2 separate regions of the Homo sapiens genome follow, and region 1 is linked to region 2. Evidence: promoter capture Hi-C in 16 types of primary human blood cells and fetal thymus (Javierre and others, 2016). All regions are on one chromosome and are shown on one strand. Each heading gives the region's core, a stretch centred on a gene start or on the middle of the fragment in contact. The rest is flanking DNA. Distances are from core to core; before and after follow the strand shown. Region 1 overlaps BCL2L13 (BCL2 like 13). Region 2 holds the start of TOM1 (target of myb1 membrane trafficking protein).

Evidence for each region. Contacts are between HindIII fragments. The CHiCAGO score rates a contact against its expected background, and 5 or more counts as called.
Region 1: a contact is called between a fragment that was not itself captured here and the fragment with the promoter of TOM1 in region 2, in 1 of 17 cell types (M0 macrophages). The highest score is 5.7, in M0 macrophages.

Annotation. Positions count from the first base shown.
Region 1 is chr22:17,674,187-17,679,156 of GRCh38, reverse strand. All of the region lies in intron 2 of BCL2L13 (BCL2 like 13), which reads right to left. Among named protein-coding and RNA genes, the nearest start is that of BCL2L13, 38 kb to the right of the region's middle. The HindIII fragment of the contact is 1,754 bases long and covers 597-2,350 here.
Region 2 is chr22:35,296,346-35,301,511 of GRCh38, reverse strand. It overlaps TOM1 (target of myb1 membrane trafficking protein), which reads right to left and starts at 1,618. Exons shown (of 15, transcript NM_005488.3): 1 at 1,532-1,618. The coding sequence starts at 1,583. RefSeq lists enhancers at 1-474, 885-1,044, 998-1,520, 1,445-1,594, 1,521-2,043. The HindIII fragment of the contact is 3,434 bases long and covers 1-3,305 here.

The sequences.
Region 1 (4,970 bases), core at 224-2,723, about 18 Mb after region 2:
GAAGTCAAGATAATTCAGAGTCATCCTAGGAATCTCACTCATTTCTGGAACTTAAATTCAGACTTACCTGAACACCCAGAGGATGCTGAATTGTATACTTAGCAACTAACCTTCTGTTAGAGGAGAGTGGTTTTTCATTTCCCTAAAGACTTGAGATAAGTAACTTGTGGGGACAATGAAGCCCCTACCTGGGTGTGGGGGAAGGGCCCTGCAATCAACTATACTCCACCATGCAAGAATTTCAGCAGAAAAACCAAACAAGCTAACAAAAAGCAGCATGAACTGGGCCACTAAGTTGCAGGTCTACCTACTATTCATTTATCCACTGAAGAAACATTGACTACCTGCTATTTATCAGGTATGTCCTGAAGCATCTACGCAGCACAAAAATGAGTAAGATTTGTCCAGCACATGAAACTATTTATATAGACTGGGGAAGTTCAGGAAGGGCAGGACAACAGCAAGCATTTACAAAGTACCTGTTACTTAACAGGCACGGTAGTAAACATTTCCTATGTGTTATTTCATTTAATTTCCAAGTCAACCTTATGAGGGATGAAATAATAGTTCCATTTGAAGATGAGGAAACTGAAGCTTGGATAGGTTCTACCACTACCATAAAGAAGTTATAATTGGAACTCTGGTGAGTCTGACTACAAAATCGTTAATCCAGGCTGTGCTCTCGTCATCTTCTGGTTGGGTGGCTAGGAATGAAAGATCTCAGAAACATTTCTGACATGATTAAATAGTTAACAGAGAGCAGAAAGGCTGTCTATATCGGTGATACTGTCTTCTGACAGGGACTTTCATGTCCCCTTATTTAATCTTCACTTCAGTTGGGTGTGGTGCTCATGCCTGTAATCTCAGCACTTTGGGAGGCCGAGGCAGAAGGATTGTTTAAGTTTAGGAGTTCAAGAACAGCCTGCGCAACATAGCTAGACCTTGTTTCTACGAAAAATAAAAAAAACTAGCTGAGCACAGTGGCATGTTCCCATCGTCCAAGATACTCGGGAGCCTGATGTGTGAAGATCACTTGAGCCTGGGAGGTCGAGGCTGCTGTGAGCCATGACTGCACCACTGCACTTCAGCACTTCTATATATTTTATGTTTCTAGACAGGGTCTCACCCTGTTGCCCAGGCTGGAGTGCAGTGGCACTATCATGGCTCACAAGAGCCTCAACCTCTTAGGCTCAAGCGATCTTCCCACCTCAGCCTCTCAAGTAGCTGGCACTACAGGTACACACCACCATGCCCAGCTAATTTTTGTGGGGTTTTTTTGTTTTTTTTTTGAGACAGAGTCTCGCTCTGTCGCCAGATCATGCAATGGCGCGATCTCGCCTCACTGCAACCTCTGCCTCCTGGGTTCAAGTGATTCTCCTGCCTCAGCCTCCTGAGTAGCTAGAACTACAGGTGCACACCACCACACCCAGCTAATTTTTGTATTTTTGGTAGAGACAGGGTTTCACCATGTTGGCCAGGATGGTCTCGATCTCCTGACCTCATGATCCACCTGCCTCAGACTCCCAAAGTGCTGGGATTACAGGTGTGAGCCACCGCGCCCAGCTGTGTGGGGTTTTTCTTTTTTTTGGTAGAGACAAAGTTTTGCCTTGTTGGCCAGGCTGGTCTCAAATTCCTGGGCTCAAGCAGGCCGCCCACCTTGGCCTCCCTCACGCTGGGATTACAGGCATGAGCCACCAGGCTCTGCCTATGTTTTCATTTTTTGCAACCAAATTAAAGAATCCCAAATTCTCAGATGGGCTTTGAATTAATTAATTCTATTAAGGTCAAGAAACTTGATTATTCTATCATCCACAGGTATTTAAAATACCTTTAAAAAACAAAAGGTTAAACATTTTTACGTATCACAGATTCTGATTCATTTTCTACTTTTAAAGCTGACAAAAATAACATGGCTTTAAGCGACATAAAACACTTTCCTTATGAGATGAGACTAACCAAAATAAAATTCAAATCCTTTTATTTTTTTATTTTTTTATTTTTTGAGAATAGGGTCTCACTATATTGCCTAGGCAGGTCTCAAACTCCTGGGCTCAAGCCATCCTCCTGCCTCTGCCTCCCTAAGTGCCAGAATCCTTAAAAGTTGAAATGTAACACAAAGGATCTCCTCAATGTCACCAATAGCATATACTTTGCTTAATGACATTTCACTTACTTCTGCCTAAGTAAATAACTTTGATAAACTACATTCATAAAAACTTGAAAATGTTACATAAAACAATCTATTATGCAAAAATTTGAGGCCAATTTATCCTAGAAAGATCCTATGCCAATTTATCCTAATCTTTATAAATTCTCATAAAGCATAAAAGTCTACCTTTACAGATAAGCTTCTACTAAATCTCCATTACTGTTTATAATTATAACAGGTTTTCCCTTTAGAAGTAATTTGTAGTGTTAGATGGCTCTGCAACAGCACTGATTAATATAACTGCACAAGATACAGTGATCTCCAGAATACATCATGACATTATTAAGTGAAATCAAACACAAGCTCAGAAATTAATTCACGGCCCATGCTATTTCTTGCAATAAAATTCTCTCTTTCCCTTCCAGCTTCCTGGAAAACAGCCGTAAAGTGGTTGATAAGCTTTGGAGTCAGGCCTTCTAACTCTTCACTTGGGCAAGGAAAATAATCTTCTTGACCCTCTCCTCTTTATGATTATTTTTTTAATTGAGACAGAGTCTCGCTCTGTCACCCAGGCTGGAGTGCAGTGGTGCAGTCTCGGCTCACTGCAACCTCCACCTCCTGGGTTCAAGCAATTCTCCCACCTCAGCCTCCCAAGTAGCTGGGAGTACAGGCGTGTGCCACCACACCTGCCTATTTTTTTTTGTTTTTAGTAGAGATAGGGTTCTGCCATGTTGGCCAGGCTGGTCTCGAACTCCTGACCTGAAGTGATCCGCCTGCCTCAGCCTCCCGAAGTGCTGGGATTACAGGCGTGAGCCACCGTCTCTCCTCTTATATAAAATGGGAAAATAATACCCACCACAAAGGGTAGTTGTGAAGAGTAATGAGATAAATGCCCAATCGACAGGTGCTCCCACTCACCAATTCTTTTCATGCTCTAAAATTGTATTATTAGATAATTATCTTTCCTGGCCCCTTATCTCTGTGAACAGAAATTAGCTCATCACAGATTTTTAATCAAAGATGCTTATACAGAACCTGCTTTCCACACTGTGAAAGGTAGGAATAGCAGGACAACCTCTGTCAGTTTAGATAATGCCATGTAATATAAAATAAGGCTGTTTTAACACAAACTAGGAGAAATCTTGACAGGCAGTTATTCTTGCTCTTCAATTGCTGCTAGAGAGAATGGCTTAATATGTGTTGCTTAAATTTGTTGGACATTGCACAACAAATTGATTGGGGAAGTTTTACTAAAAAGCTGTATTCCTGAATACCAGATGTTCTGCAACCTGTTTCCAAGGGTGGCTTGCCTCTAATGGACTTGCCTTCAATTTTTTTCCAGGCTAAGGTAATCTCTGTCATACTCAACAATGTAAGAATTTTGATCAATCACTGTCATAAGCTACAGTGAATGAACGTGCTTTTAAGAGAAATCAATCCTTCTTGTAGCTACTAACACTCCTTCAAACATACTTCAATGACAGAAACAGAAATAACAACCAGGCTGAAAAAAGTTAGCCCTCTATTCCACAAAAACATTTCTAACTTAATATCTATCATTCTACTCTTGACCTCCCCTTAATCAGAAACTCAGAACACCTACACGTTTTAGACTTCTTGCAGATAATATAACCTATTGGATCCATTTTTCTACAAGGTTTGAATTGTAGACCTCATGATTTGCCCACCCTGGTCTCCCAAAGTGCTGGGATTACAGGAGTGAGCCACCGCGTCTGGCCGATATTGACAACATTTTCTACTGCATTTCTGTGTCCTATGTTATAAAGCTCTTAGTGGGAAAAAAGAAATCTTTTAAAAAACTATTTTCCAACCAAAAGGAACTAGTATAGCTTCTAAATTATAGGGGTAAAAGATTCCTGGAACTAAATATACCCTCTGTTTTATAGTATATATATGTGTGTGTGTGTGTGTATACATATGTATGTATGTATGTATTTGGCTTTCCCAAGAACCAAATTCACAGCTCAGCACTAGTATAATTGTAGAGGATCTCACAGACTACTTACCTATCTATGATCTGTTATTCCTACTATAGACATGTACAATTTTCCTACTCCTGATTTTTTTATTTACTATTTGGATTTTTCCATTATGCATCATAAGCCACATTAAATTATATGTGGTAAGGAATTTTTTAAAAAAGTATTACTATTTGCATCCAGTATGAACTCACTGCCAATTTCTCACTATCTAACAAAACAAGCCAGATGCAGTAGCATGTTACAGTCCCAGCTACTTGGGAGGCCTAGGCAGGAAGACCCCTTGAGCTCAGGAGTTTGAGGCCATAGTGTGCTATAATCATGCCTGTGAGTAGCCACTGCACTCCAGCCTGGGCAACATAGCAAGAACTCATTTCTTTCTTTCTTTTTTTTTTTTTTTTTGAGACAGAGTCTCACACGGTTGCCCAGGCTGGAGTGCAGTGGCACGATCTCTACTCACTGCAACCTCCGCCTCCTGGGTTCAAATGATTTTCCCACCTCAGCCTCCCTAGTAGCTGGGATTACAGGCGCCCGGAACCATGCCTGGCTAATTTCCTATATTTTTAGTAGAGACAGGGTTTCACTATGTTGGCCAGGCTGGTCTTGAACTCCTGACCTTGTGATCCGCCCGCCTCAGCCTCCCAAAGTGCGTAAGCCACTGTGCCCCGCCAGCAAGAACCTATCTCTAAAAAACAAAACAAACAAAAACCTCAAACATATTATTCTACATTTTTGCTCAACATAAACTGTCCTTCTGTTTCCTGATAATTCAAATTCTGTCTATCCTTGAAAAACCAATGTAACTCTCTACTTCAAAATGT
Region 2 (5,166 bases), core at 369-2,868:
CTTCATGCAAGAATGCGGAACACCCAAACCATCCTCCGGAGAAGTGTGGCTGTTTGGGTGAAGGCATGTCGGTTCTCATGGTGTTGGTGCCCAAGAATGAGCACCTATGAGATCTACTGCCAAGCGATTTCCAGGGATTCCTAACCTTCACTTGGTGATCTCAGGAACAACGTGTGTGTGTAAATACATATAATATATATGTATGTGTATGTATATGTATGTTTGTATGTGTATATTTTTATATATATGTGTGCGTGTGTGTGTGTGTATGTGTATGTGTTTCAAGAGATGGGCTCTCCCTGCGTCGTCCAGGCTGGAGTACAGTGGCGCCATCAGGGCTCACTGCAGCCCTGACCTCCCAGATCCAATAAATCCTCCCAGCTCTGCCTACCGAGTGGCTGGGTGCACAGGCACGCACCACCACGCCCGGCTAATTTCTGTATTTTTTTTTTTTTTTTTTTTTGTAGAGACGGGGTCTCGCCATGTTGCCCAGGCTGGTCTCGAACTCCTGGGCTCAAGCGATCTGCCCGCCTTGGCCTCCCAAAGTGCTGGGATTACAGGCGGGAGCCACCGTGCCCAGCCCAGTGATAATAAATATTACAACTGTTTTTTTTTATATGGCACTGGCCATGTACCAGGCATTGTTCTAAGTATTTCACATTTATTAAGGAATTTAATCTTCACAACAAGCCCACGGAGGTGGGGACCATTATTGCCCGCCAACTACAGGTGAGGAAACCTCGGCCCAGGGAGGCTGCGTCACAGAACTGTGAGTATCCTGTCACCAGGGTGCAGAGAACCACGGACCAGCAGACAGGCGCCAGGTGCCCTGGGCTTGGCTTGGCCCGAGTTCCCGGCTGCCCCACCTACGGAGCACCGAGATGGGCTGACCAGGAGGGTTTGTCCGACCACTGTCTGCTCAGGTTCTGAGAGTCTGTGCGGGTCCATTTGAGGTTGGGTCGAGAAAAGAGCCCAGGCGGACACGTCCTGAGACCCGGGTCTGTGAGGCCTGGCCGCGGGCTGTCCGGCGCTGGGCCCCTCTGGCCAGTTGGCCCCAAGACGCCAAGCCCGGGGCTTCGCGGTCCTGGGAGAAGGGACTTCTAGCCCTTCTCAGGTGTCTGTGTCCGGAGGGCCCGGTGAGCCAGGAAGGAGCTGGCCAGAGCCCAGGCGGCGGGACCCAGCAGAGTGGCCCAGCCACTGCCAACCACGCAGTCCCTTTAACCACGAAAACTTTCTCCCTCGATTGGGGACCCCAGCAGACGCACATTGGCTGCGCCGTGGGCATCCGGACCCACCCTCTCTCCTTACCTACTGGCTGTCATATACATCTATCACAAGCCAAGGCTTCCTAATGGCCCAAGTTCTTGTCAATCAAGAGTGGGAGGAAAGCTGGGCGGAGCCAGGTCGGAGAGCTACACGCCAGCCTCCTTGCCCTCCCTGCCTCCGTGACTAGGCACCCGGAGGCTTCCCAGGGGACCGAAGCTGGGTGCGGAGCACCGGGGCGGAGCTGTGGGGGGCTCCAGGGACTCACCGATGCGCTGTCCCACTGGAGAGCTGAACGGGTTCCCCAGGAGAAAGTCCATTGCTGCTACCGCCGCTGCCACCAACCCCGGGAATCAGCTGACAGCAACCGCCAGCGCCACCGACCCGTCACGTGACGCACTCGGAGGCCGGCGAGGAGGCGTGGGCGGGGCGGTGGCACCGCGAAGCTCGACCACAAGCCCCGCCCTGAGACGCCAGGGTCCCGCCCCCGAGGCGGAGGGCGATGACCTCACTGCGGCTTGCTCGGCGGCGGCGGGCGTCACACACGATGTAGGGTCTGGGGTCGGGGCCCGGGAAGCGCGGTCCTCTTTAAGCCACGCCCCTGACCTTTTAGGGCGAGGTCTAAAGGACCCTTTACACATTTGGGAAACTGGGTCGTAGACCAGGGAAGTGACTTGGGTGAGTTACACAGAAGCCGAGACTCTTAGGGTCATAGCCCTTAGTCCTTGGGACCTCACTGTGACTGCACACCTACCCTGGGTGACAGCCTCTCTGGGCTGTTGTCTCCTTGTCCCGGTAAGACTCTTCCTGTTTGATGTCAAGGTCTCCCCGCTCCAAGATGCACCCTGCTCGCAGCCCAAATTATCTTACCTTAAATCAGAGGCAAGGGCAAGGGGTTTGTCATCTGTTGAGACTGAGAGGCAATTTAATGAATTGCAGCGCAATTCCCTCTAGCGCCCAGGATGGCAAAAAGCACAGATGTAGTCACGAGTGGGGCTTTAATACCCGTCTCTGCCATAAATTTACTGTGTGAGCCAAACATAGCTCCCATTTTCTCTAGATACTGGAATTAGATCAAGGACTCGTAACCATTTTTAAAAAATATTTTATTTAGGTCACAGTCTCCTTTGAGAATTTGACAAAAGCCATGAGCCTTTCTGAAGAAAAAAGGCAGCGATACAATTTTGCTTATAACCTCAGGGAGTTTCTGGGGTCCCTGAAGTACAACCGTGGACCCCAAGCTAAGAATCTCAAAGGCCTTTCCCAGCGTTGTGATTCTAATCTCTTCAGCCTTCCTGGCTGTGTGTGGTGTGTCTGCTGACACCTACACACTAGATACCTATCTATGGGTTATGACCTTTTCTTCTGGCATGTACTCCAAAAATACAATAACCATGGCCTTAGTAGTCTGGCTACTGTGGGTGCTTAAGTACTTATTGTGATGTTTGTGGTTTTTAAATCTGAAAGGCTAGTAAATTGACTGCACAAATTTTGGATGACAGAAAACCTAAATTAAGCAAGGTGTGGTGGCTCACGCCTGTAATCCCAACATTTTGGGAGGCTGAGGCAGGTGGATCACCTGAGGTCAGGCATTCAAAACAAGCCTAGCCAACATGGTAAAATGCCGTCTCTACTAAAAATACAAAAATTAGCCAGGTGTGGTGGTACACGCCTGTAGTCCCAGCTACTTGGGAGGCTGAGGCATGAGAATTGCTTGGACCCAGGGGGGCAGAGATTGCAGTGAGCTGAGATCGTGCCACTGCACTCCAGCCTGGGTGACAGAGTAAGGCTGTGTCTTAAAAAAAAAAACAAACCTAAATTAGAACTTAATCACCTCTGTAGATTCACTTGTTTGAGCAGCCATGGGGTCCGATGTCTTTACTGTACAATATAAAAACTGCTTTGAAGTGTTTCCACAACACTCATGAGACCTGTTCACAAATGCCTTTGCCCCCACGAGTCTGGATGTCCCTGGGGGCTGGGCTACTATTTCTGTTTTGCTCCCCACTATTGTCTAACCCAGTAACTAGCACATGAAAGCTTAAATAGATCTACGTTTCAGTAATGGTATTTGGAGTATAAGCGGGGAGAAGGCCATTTAAGATGACCTTCAGGTCAAGGCACTTTCCATGTCTTTCTTCACTTAACCTTATTGCTTGGTCATATGGAGTTATGTTTAGCATGAACTTCTTTTGGATTCTTCCATTAACCTTTATTTATTTATTTTTAGAGGCAAAGTCTCACTATGTTGCCCAGGCTGGTCCTTGAACTTCTGAGCTCAAGTGATCCTCCCACCTCAGCCTCCCAAAGCCCTGGGTTACAGGCATGAGCCACCATCTCTGGCCCTTCCTTTAAGCTTTTAACAAGTTCTTGTAAACTTTATTCATGGTAAAAAAAAAAAAAAAAAAAAACAAAAAAAAACAAAAACAGAGACAACTCATATGCCCCCAAACAGGAAGTGGAATCATAAACTCCATGCAGGCTGGGCACGGTGGCTCACACCTGTAATCACAGCACTTTGGGAGACCCAGGCAGGCAGATCACGAAGTCAGGAGATCAAGACCATCCTGGCTAACACGGTGAAACCCCATCTCTACTAAAAAAATAGAAAAAATTAGCTGGGCGTGGTGGTGGGCGCCGTGGTGGGCGCCTGTAGTCCCAGCTACTCGGGAGGCTGAGGCAGGAGAATGGCGTGAACCTGGTAGGCGGAGCTTGCAGTGAGCAGAGATTGCACCACTGCACTCCAGCCTGGGAGACAGAGCGAGACTCCGTCTCAAAAAAAAAAAGAAAAACAACTCCATGCAAACTGATTACTATATAGCTATTGAAACAGAAATGGAAGTATATGGATTTATTTATTTATTTATTTTTAAAGACAGAGTCTCTGTCACCCAGGCTGGCGTACAGTGGTACAACTGTAGCTCACCGTAGCCCTGATCTCCTGGGCTCAAGTGTCTTCCCACTTCAGCCTCTTGAGTAGGTGGGACTGCAGATGCATGCCACCATACCTGGCTAATATCTTTTAGTTTTTGTAGAGATGGGGTTTTGCTATATTCTCCAGGCTGGTCTCAAACACCTGGCCACAAATGATCCTCCTGACTTAGTCTCCCAAAGTGCTGGGATTACAGACACGAGCCACTGCACCTGGCCAGTATATGGATTTTATCAACATAGTAGATAGGGATGTAAATGGCAAACATTAAAGTTAGTACAAAACTGATTAAAACTGTCTTTAAAAAGTGTGCTAATAAGGAGCAAACTGATTTAGTAAAAAGTGTTTCAATTTACTTTTTAAGTGTTTTAGTAAAATTAATATCATGCCTTACTGAGGGTTAAAATGTTCAAATTTCTTAAGATTGACAGTCTGCATAAATGTAATCTATTAAATCCTTTAAGTGCTTACAGACAAAAATCAAGATACCTTGCCTTCAAAATTTAAAGACAATAGTATGACAAGAGTGAAAGCCAGCTAGATACCCGAACAATGCAAAGATCTGAGACAGCATTCCCACAATCACATTCGCTCAGGACTTGAGATAATGGAAAGCATTCTGATGAATTATAGACATGATTTAAATCTGAAAGTAGCTTGGGGTAGAAAAGAGCCTAGGGTTTGGGGTCAGCTGTTTCACTGTTCTTAATCTGCCTTTGCCATTTACTAGCAGTATAAACTTAGGAAAAGTACTTTTTCGCATCTATAAAGGGAGATAATATTCTTAAGGCTTTGGGCGGAGGATGAGTGAGACAAAGTATGCAAATCACTCTAATAGTCACTCAGTGATACGGTAGTCTCTTCCTTGCTGCCTTTCCATAAGACATTAGCCTTGTAATTAATCATATTATTTTACTATTTATGACTTTTAACACCTTGTGTTTGCACTGAAGTTTTTACCTTGAAAGGTC